2 separate regions of the Homo sapiens genome follow, and region 2 is linked to region 1. The links are contacts of gene promoters, found by promoter capture Hi-C in blood cells and fetal thymus (Javierre and others, 2016). All regions are on one chromosome and are shown on one strand. Each heading gives the region's core, a stretch centred on a gene start or on the middle of the fragment in contact. The rest is flanking DNA. Distances are from core to core; before and after follow the strand shown. Region 1 holds the start of MCC (MCC regulator of Wnt signaling pathway). Region 2 overlaps MCC (MCC regulator of Wnt signaling pathway).

Evidence for each region. Contacts are between HindIII fragments. The CHiCAGO score rates a contact against its expected background, and 5 or more counts as called.
Region 2: a contact is called between a fragment that was not itself captured here and the fragment with the promoter of MCC in region 1, in 6 of 17 cell types (endothelial precursors, naive CD4 T cells, total CD4 T cells and 3 more). The highest score is 6.1, in endothelial precursors.

The regions. Positions count from the first base shown.
Region 1 is chr5:113,486,387-113,491,466 of GRCh38, reverse strand. It overlaps MCC (MCC regulator of Wnt signaling pathway), which reads left to right and starts at 3,014. Exons shown (of 19, transcript NM_001085377.2): 1 at 3,014-3,222. The coding sequence starts at 3,053. RefSeq lists an enhancer at 2,821-3,115. The HindIII fragment of the contact is 3,844 bases long and covers 138-3,981 here.
Region 2 is chr5:113,334,693-113,339,772 of GRCh38, reverse strand. The region is part of intron 3 of MCC (MCC regulator of Wnt signaling pathway); the gene reads left to right. It overlaps LOC124901045 (a long non-coding RNA gene), which reads right to left. Exons shown (of 3, transcript XR_007058904.1): 3 at 8-3,386. Among named protein-coding and RNA genes, the nearest start is that of TSSK1B, 98 kb to the left of the region's middle. The HindIII fragment of the contact is 1,371 bases long and covers 1,491-2,861 here.

The DNA of each region.
Region 1 (5,080 bases), core at 1,765-4,264:
ACATCTAGGTGGAGACCCCACATCTCCACAGCTCTCGCTTTCTGCAAACCTGAAGAATTATAATGGCATCATATGGATGCCATTAAGGCCTATGGTTCTCATCTTCTTGAGTGACAGGTCAATTCACACCTAAAGCTTCTTGAGCCACAGCTGGCATGTCCAAAAAGCACTGTACCAGAATTTGGGAAGTAAAGACCTGAGAGAGACCTTGGCAGCAAGCCCATGAAAGGTGCCTCATGTCTGTCTCCTGAAACCATTCTGTCCTCCTGCCTCTGGGTCTGTGATGAGAGGAACAACTCAAAGTTCTCTGAAATGCCATCGAGGTCTTTCCTTCTCGTAATGATACTTTCTTCCTTTACTAATCTCTGGAACAAAAGGTTGCTGGGCTACACCCTTGGTTTCCTCTCCCAAACACACCTTTTCACTCTTCACATGGCCAGGCTGAGAGTTTTCCAAATCTTTCCACTTTGCTTCTCTTATGATTGTAAATTCCACCTTTAAAGTTTTTTTCCCCCTCTCACAGCTTGATGTAAGTGGTTAAAAGTAGCCATGCTGCAGCCTGAATGCTTTACTGCTTAGATATTTCTTTGGCCAGATACCCCAGTTTCTCTCTCTCAAGTTCAGCCTTCCAGAAAGCCCTCAGGCATAGAACAGTTCAGCTAAGTTCTTTGCCAATTTATAACAAGGATGGTCTTTACTCCATTTTCTTGTACCTTGTTCCTCAGTTCCATCTGAGACCTTGTCAGAATGGCCTTTACTGTCCATAGTTCCATCAGCATTCTGATTATGACCATTTAACCAATTTCTAAGGAGTTCCAAACTTTCCCTGTTCTTCCTGTCTTCTCAGCCCTCACTAGAACCTAGGCTTTTTCTAGACTGCTGCTTCATTCTTGTAGCCTCTGCTCATTATCCAGTTTCAAAGCTGCTTCTCCATTTTCAGGTATTCGTTTTCGTTAACACCCCACTCCCGGTACTAATTTCTGGTCTTGTCAATTTTCTGTTGCTTAGAACAGACTACCTGAAACTAGGGTGATTTATAAAGAAATGAATTTATTTCTTACAGTTCTGGAGAATGAAAAGTCCAAGGTCAATGGGCCACCCTGCTGGTGGGGACTCTGTGCAGAGTCCCAAAACAGTGCAGGGCATCACATGGCAAGGGGGCTGAGCCTGCTAACTCAGGTCTCTCCTTCTCTTCTTATAAAGTCACTAGTCCCACTCCCATGATAACCCATTAACTCATTAACTCATGAATCTATGATTTTAGTGCCCTGAAATACTGGGAACTTAGAGAATAATAAAGAAGTAAAGTAGGAATAGGTAGATGGGGTGGAGAGGAGGAGAAAGAGAGCAGAGATTCCTTCCTTCTGACCTAGCAGACATTCCCAAGACATATGGACTTGTTCCAGTTATATATTGCTGCATAACAAATCACCTCAAAACTTAATGGCTTAAAACAACAATTTTTAATTATTATCTTCACAGCTCTGGGGGTTGGTTAGCCAGTTTTGCTCAGGGTCTCCAATGCAGTTGCAGCATCTAGAGCTAGCATCATCTCTCACTCATGTCTGGCACCTAGTCTGGGAAGATTCTAAGATCCAGGGCTAGAACAGCTGTAGCTCTTTGGTCATCTCCTTTTTTCTTTACATGGTCTTTCTGCATGGTTTCTCCAGCTTCAGGGTAGCCAAACTTCTTTTCAGGCAGCTCAAGGCTTCAAAGGTAAGTGTCCCAAGGGAGAGAGCCAAGTGCAATCTGCATTGCCTTTTCTAACCTAGTCTCAGAAGTCAAGGCAGTCACAAGTCCAATCCAGGTTTAGGGGAAGCAACAGACTCCACCTCTTGATGAGGGGTGCACCAAAGAATCTGTGGACATATTTTAAAACCACCAGAGAACTTCACACGCCTCTCTGGCAGAAAATCCAGGACAGAATAATGAGTCATTCACGAAACCACAAATTGCTTCACTGTGGTTTCCCTTTGGCTATGGGGGAATAGTGCAGTGTTTAAAGGCTCCTGCTCTGGAGTTAGGCTGCCCGGGCTTGCCTCTGCCCTAACACTTACTAAACCTGGAACCTTGAGCAGGTCTTGGTACCTCAGTTTTCTTACCTGTAAATTGGGAACAATGAGAGCTAACAGTTGTTGAGCACTTACTAGGTGTCAGACATTGTCCTAACTGCATTATGTCTGCTCTCCTTTTATATGTAAGATAACTCTATGAGGTACTTATCTATTAATACTTCCTAAGTCGTAGGATTGATAATAAAAGAGGCATCTTCCAGGTCTGTAGTGTGGATCAAATGAGACCATCTATTATGTTCGCTCTTGGCATTATTAAAGCTGTTGGGGGAAATTCTAGTGATGCCTGGCCAGTAGAGTGAGCCGTTTCCAGAAATTGACCCAACGTACACAATGCCACACAGCGTGCAGACTCTTCCCAGTACAGAGTGGGAGCCAAGATGAGGGCTGCGAGGGCCAGGTTTCTTGACAGGTGTCAAAATTTCATAAAAAGGCCAGTCATTCCGGTTCTCATTGGTGGCTATGGGTACAGAACCCGGAACAATCCTGGAGAGTGGGATTACAAGCACCGTTTTGAGTTTGCAGAAGGAGAGTGTTTATATAGCTTCTCTGGAAAAGGAAGCCATGACTCCGGGCGGTCGGAGAAGGTCTGCCGGGAGTACACCTGCCCTCTGCCTGAAGCGTCCCCAAGTGTCCCGGGCCCGCGTCGTTGCCGGATGCACAATGCTGACACCCTTCCCGGGGGCTTCCAGTGTATTCTGCCTCCTCTTGTGTTCCCGTTGCCACCCTTAGCTCCCTGACTCTTCCAGCCACCTTCCCCTCCTCCCTCTTCCCTGAGGTGCCTCCTCGGGCGATTCCAGAGCGCCCATCTTCCCAGTCCGGGCAAAACCCGGAGAGGTGGAATCCCTCGCCCGGAGCGCCCCGGCGGCCACTGGGCATGCTCCGTTGTCAGGCAAGTTCGGGGCTGCAGGCAGCTTGCGCGCCGCGCGGATTCCAGCTGCGGTCGCGCGTACTCCTCCTCCCAAGTAGGGAGCGGGCGCATGATGGCGGCCGCGGCGGCAGCGGCTGCGGGGAGCTCCAGCAGCGGCGGCGGCGGCGGCGGCAGCGGCAGCAGCAGCAGCAGCAGCGACACGTCCAGCACCGGCGAGGAGGAGAGGATGCGGCGCCTCTTCCAGACGTGCGACGGCGACGGGGACGGATACATCAGCAGGTACGCGGGGAGGTACGAGGAAACCGACAGGAGCGAGATCAGTCCCTCCGCGCGCCCTTGACCCCTGCTCTGCCCCCTCGCCCCAACTTGCGGCAAGTTGCTCAGAAGCTCGCGGGAAAAGTTGGCCGCGACTCCGAGAGCGCGTAGCCGGCTCGGCCACGAAGGCCGAGGGGACTGCTCTGTTCGCCTTGCGGGGGTGCCAGTTGGTCCAACTTTTCCCAGCGCTGTCTTTGTCTAGGCGTTGGGAGACATCTCCTTAGGATGCGCACTCTTCCGGGGGCTTGGAGTGTTCTTCCCTGTGGGAAAAGGAGTTCTGGCCGCTTGTCCCAGGTAGGAGGGGCTGCCCCACAGCCTCGGGGTCCTGGGCATCAAGATGCCGCAGCACGGGGCAGCGATCTGCCCGGCGGCTTGGTGGACACCCCAGGGCCGCACCGGGAGGAGATGAGCTAAGCGACAGCCTCGGACAGGGAAATAACCTGTGAAGAAACTTTCTTGTGCCGCAGAACCCATGAATTCCAAACTTCAGAGCCCAAAGAATGGGTATCGTTTGCCACCCAGTATTGATTTAAACGCAGTAGCCTGAGAGGAACGAAGCGCTCAGGAGCAAACTAGGGCTAGACCCGACTCCTACCCGGCTCTGTGCGCTGACCAGGTGAGCTTCGGCGTGGCTCCGGGCGCCTCCGCGCCTCCACTCACAAACAAACTTTGGGGTGTTTGCTTCGGATCCCCCGCACTTCCTACAGAGGCGGTATTTAAGCTTCCTGCCTCCCGGCTTGGCCAAATAATTACTTCTGCCCAAATTTGTGTCACTTAGACTCTTGTGGTGAAGAAGGCAATCGCAACATTTTCTGGTATGCTTCTATTGAATGGTTGACACCGGCCATTGAAGACTTGGTATCCGTGGAAATTTGAATTGCCTTGGATGAAGGAGCAGCCTAAGTTGTGCATTACATGTTTCTTTAGTCTATGTCTTGGTGATGCTAAAGATCGTTTCTGAAAATCCGGGGCTGCTTCCTGATTGTCCCTGCCTACCTAAAAAAAAAAAAAAGAAAGCAAAGTGCGGAATTTTTCCCTTAAAATAAAAAAAATTATTTATTTGGGACTCAACGCAATTTTGATCATTCTTAGGTGAATTTTTATTACTTTGCTAAAGTTTTACTGAGAAACATTAGGAAGATATCAGAAAACTTGATGGAGTAATTCTGTTCGGAAATGAAAATAATATGTAATTCTGATTGACTCCATGCAAATTTCTATCTGGAAGTCTCGTTATTTTGGTTCTGGGAGTAAAAGAAATTTCATTATATAGTTTTCCTTTTTGTTGTTTTCCTACTTGAAAGGTTATTATCTCATTTGCAATAATAAAGGCAAACTCCAACTTTGGATACAATTTTTTTTTTTTTTAGACAGAATCTCGCTCTATCACCCAGGCTGGAGTACAGTGGCGTGGTCTTGGCTCACTGCAACCTCCGCCTCCTGGTTCAAGAGATTCTCCTGCCTCAGCTTCCCGAGTAGCTGGGATTACAGGTGCCCACTACCACTCCCGGCTAATTTTCGTATTTTTAGTAGAGAAGGGGCTTCACAATTTGGCCAGGCTGGTCTCGAATTCCTGACCCTAAGTGATCCGCCCGCCTCGGCCTTAGGAAGCGCTGAGATTACAGGCCTGAGCCACCGCTCCCCGCATGGATGCAAAAAAGTTTAATTTCACACGGGCAAGAGTGCATACAGAAAACTAGCAGCGTGCTATCCTTTTCTAATTTGGCCTATTAATATATTGCTTTATCTGAACTACACTTTCTATATAAATGCTCACATTATTTTCGGTGATTCTACCCGGGAGGATAATGAATTCTGTAAG
Region 2 (5,080 bases), core at 927-3,426, 150 kb after region 1:
ATGTAGACCAGTGGTTTTCAAACTCTGTGTTTGAGGCACACTTTCTAATTCTGACACTTTTGGTGGGATGTTTGAAGGAACTAGCAATTGTAAATATGGCAACAATAATTAAAATACAATCATCAGAAAAATCCCAATTAAATGACAGTCTACAAAATACGTAACCAAAACTCCTCAAAACTGTCAAGGTTATCAAAAACAAGGAAAGTCTAATAAAGAGAAACTGTCCAGCTAAGAGAAGCCTAAGAAAATACGACAACTAAATGGAATGCATATCCTCAATGGGATCCTGGATCAGAAAAAAAGGACATTACAGTAAAACACACATGCACGCACACACACACACACACACACACACACACACTAAGGAAGCCTAGATAAAATATGGACTTTAGTTAATAATAGTGTGTCAACATCAGTTTATTATGACTAGTATACCAAAATAATGTAAGATGTTAATAAGTAGGAAAAACTATTTGTGGGGTATATGATTACTCTCTCTCCTGTCTTTGCAAATTTTGTCTAAAACTATTTGTTTTTTTTTTTGAGATGGAGTTTCGCTCTTGTTGCCCAGGCTGGAGTGCAATTGCGCAGTCTTGGCTCACTGCAACCTCCGCCTTCCAGGTTCAAGCAATTCTCCTGTCTCAGCCTCTCAAGTAGCTGGGATTACAGGTACCTGCCACACCTGGCTAATTTTTGTATTTTTTTTTTTTAGTAGAGACAGGGTTTTCACCATGTTGGCCAGGCTGGTCTCGAACTCCTGACCTCAAGTGATCCACCCGCCTTAGCCTAAAACTATTATAAAATAAAAAATTTATTAAAAACATATAAACATGCACAGTCACTGCTAGGGTATGATAATGTCTCATAAAATCTGTAAAAACATTCATAGTTATTGCACTGTTTGTCACTTGGCCACACTTCAAGGACATTCTTGCACAGTTTGAGTAGAACTCTAACTATCCTAATCTTGCCCTCCTATGTGCTCAGGAGATTAGGCGATTATCAGTGAATATGTCATCTTTCTCTGGCATAGGCCTGGACTTAGGCTATGCCTGCTTCAAATAATTTGCAGCAAGTTGAACCCTCCTCTGTACTATATCAGCTCAGCCTTTTCTCAAGACAGACATTGCCATAACAGGATGGGTTATAGCAGAAATCAGTGTTAAACAGAGATCAAAATTTGATGGTACCTTCTCTGGAGGGTTCCAGGTTCATGGCCGACCAGTTTTCTGCAGCAAATCTGCTATTGAAAACTGTGGGAGTTGGCTGTTTCCTATCTCTGTATGACTCTGTGGTTCCCAGCTTCTCCAGTAACCTCCTGGACTGATTTCTGTTCTCCTGTCTCTCCTGATTGGAGGCCAGCTCAGCCCTTGGGGTTCCCACAGCCAGGTTCTCTAAGTTGGCTCTTCAGGGGAGTCAAGGCACAGAGAGCTCTCACATACCCCACAGTCATATACATACCCTCTTTTTACTTTACTGGTTAAGCTTTAGAAATGAGGGAACACTGCCTAACATTTCCTCTGCACACTCACTTAAGGCGATCCCTTGGCAAGAACTGAACCATGAATGCAAATGCAGGCACTGAAGTCCTATGACTATGATTACACTATTTATTTCCTCACCAAATGGAAAAGTAAAACTTTAAAAATACCATTTGAATTCACAGACCCATTTTTAATGCCCTTGGACCCTGTGGTAGAGTACATTTTGGGCCCCAGTTCTTCATCCTGTCCTGTGTCTTCACCATTTGTCATGCAACTCTAGAGTCCTTCTGTCAGATACGTGAGAGTGATACATGATGGTTGTTTTAACCATTGTGTTTGCGGTAGTTTGTTTCATAGCCATAGTGACTCAGGGTCTACTCAGAAGGGTCTGTAGAGCCCGATTTGAGAAATACCCTTCCCAGGTGGCCAAAGAAAGCAAATAGTCTCTTGAAACTGCACATTTGGGCAATCCCTTTATTTATATAATCACATTAAAAGTAATTTATGTCCCTTCTAAGGAAAAATCTTGAACTAATAAAATTAAGTTTTATTATTTTTCTTTTAAATAGCTACTAAGAGCAAAAGGCATTTTATCAGTGTCTAGTTAGGAGACAGAAAGCACACAGTAATTCACACAGGGAAAGTTTAATATAAATGATTATTAACTAGTAGCAGAGGATTACCTACTAAGGGTAAAGAAAACCGTACTGAACACAGGAATAGCACATACGAAGAACAGCCACTACCCCTAAGGCTGTTCCCAAGGAAAGAGTACCAAAGAAGGAACAAATTTGGAAGAGGGCCCTCCCCTCACCCAGGGCTGATTCAGACCCCTTTCAAAGAAAGTCTGCAGCCCACTGAATTGCAGAGAATTTCCCTGAGATGTTGCAGGCCAGGGCTGGCAAGCAGGAAACCAAACTTCTGAACCTTCGTCCAGCCTCCTGGTATACCACCCATTGGGGCATCTGCAAGACTCATCAGGTATCACTGAGGTGTCCTCCGAGGTGCCAGAGGGATTCACTGGGAAGCTGCCTGCTGGAGTGGTGGCAAACCCACTGAAAAGTCCCCCAAATACTGCCACTAAAACTTAATAGGGTGAGTCACTAGATGTCCTATGCTGCTGGCGCCTACCCACCACAAGAGCTAGCAGGGGAGAGCACAGCAGTCAAGCCACGAGAGTCAAGCTGAGTTCCCTTCTTCCTACAGTGTCCCTCCAGCACCCTCTATTGACAAAGGAGAAATGTTTACATGGTCCAGCTCCAAGACCACAAAACAGGACAAAGAAAGCTGGATTTGGAGATGAGAAGCAACAAATGATAACTAGCACAGACATTTTTAGCATTGAGGATTTCCTGAGAGATTCCTACATAAGCTTTTTACCTTTCTAAGCATCTCTTCCTTTTCTTCTACCACCAATCACCAGTCTTCTCCTTCTACCTAAGACAGTGGATACCATGAGGCTTAACATACCGTTCACAATGCAAAGGCAACAAGACAGTGTTGTACACAGATACTTACAGCAGCCATGGTTTTATCGAAGTAGCAAAATGGCCACACATTATACAGAATAAGAGATTTATTATCCTAAGGGCTAGACCTTACACAAATGTGAGAGCTGGTGATGCAATCTATGAAGACTATTGGTTCTGTGTCTAGTGCTGAGCCTGAAGTTACTATAGGTTTGTCAGATCAGCTGTTAAGAGGGAAAGCTAGATGTATAGGAGAGTAGGGACAAACCAGAACTCATGAGGACCAATGGGACCATTGAGGACAAACTGGAACCCTCTTCTGTGTCTTACCATGTCCAACCTTGATGCTGCGGGTGACCTGCAGGAGAAACTGGCACTATCTCCTGCAGTGTGTCTCCTGCACACACACTTGGCCCAGGACTCAGAGAAGCTGAAGGAGGAGATTTAGTGAATTAGAATTACTGCAAGCCTGGTACACCAAGTAGTTAAGCAGCAGATTAGCAATAATGTGTGCAAGTGGACAAGGTGCATAGTGCCTGCTATGGTTTGTTTTCCCCTCCAAAATTCATATGGAAATTTTTTTGCCATTATAACAGTATTAAGAGGTGGGACAATTAAGAGGTGATTAGGCCATGATGGCTCCACCCTCATGGGTGGGATTGGTGCCATTTTAAAAGGACAGGTTCCTCTCTCTCTCTCCCACTCCCTGTCTCTCTCTCTTTCTTTTTCTCTCACCTTCTCCTTGCCCTTGCACTCTTTCACCATGTGATAACACAGTAAGAAGTCACCTGACAGATGCCAGCACCTTAATATTGGGCTTCCCAGCCTCCAGAACTATAAGCCAATAAATTTCTATTCATTATAAATTACCCGGTTTCAGATATTCTGTGATAGCAGCACAAAACAGACTACGACAGTAACTCTGTACCAAGTTTCAGAGCATAAAAAGTATGACTTCTTTACTTCTTCCTTCTGGATTTCACACAGAATGTCTCTCATGGCCATACAGAACCATACAAGAAAGAGAACTCTGGGGAATGTGGTTCCAGCTTAGCTGAATTTAGTACCAAGTCACCACAAAGCAGCAGCAAAACTCAGTGTAATCTAAGCCCTATTCATAAAACTATGGGTAAAGCAATATGAGATATTTTAAGAGTCTGGTAAAGAGGGTATGCAGTGGGAAAGATGTACTGCCTGTTTTCTGATAGATTTTTTCTACAAAGATTTGTATTACCAGGAAATAATGCTAGTATAAATTATAATGTTATGGATTCTGAGTAGTAACATATGTAAGTATTCTAAAACATAAAACGTAACAGAAGTTTCATTTTCTAGATACAGCAGAGATAAATTCCTGAATGAAATAGCAATGTCTAGATAAATTCTGTGAGCTATACTACTTGGTTTTTAAAGTATTAATTATAGGTTTTATTTTTTATTAATAAAAGTATTAATTGATGTACATTAAAATTAATTATACTAGAAGAGAAGCCATGTGGACAACAGAAAGTTGATGAGAAGTAAAAGTAATCATTTGTCTCTGTCTTCCCTCATTTAAAAGGTCTTCACCAACTTTTTAAAATGTATTCTTGAATTGCTTTTAATATAGGGAACTTTTCATTTCTCCTTCTGCAGTCTTAACACACTACAATCATTATGGTACTTGCCAAATTTGGGGTTACCAAACTTTGATCTAGAGGATGTGTGCTAGCTTTGCGGTTAAAGCAAGGCTGATTGTTCTATGAGCACCCTCTTCTGGGCATTGTTCAGAGTCAAAGAACAAAAAATTCTTCAGCATAGAGCATGCTTGTCACCCTTTAGATTTTCAGGGAATTGGGATAGGACAAATAAAATATTGGAATTTTGAGAAAAGGGCTAAGGAATGGCCTAGAATATAGGGTTGATTTTTTTAAAATTCAGAACATTGGCTGGGCACGGTGGCTCACGCCTGTAATGCCAGCACTTTGGGAGGCCGAGACAGGCAGATCACCTAAGGTCAGGAGTTCAAGACCAGCCTGGCCAACATGGTAAAACCACATCTCTACTAAAAATACAAAAATTAGCCGGGTGTGGTGGTGCGTGCCTGTAATCCCAGCTACTCAGGAGGATGAGACCAGAGAATTA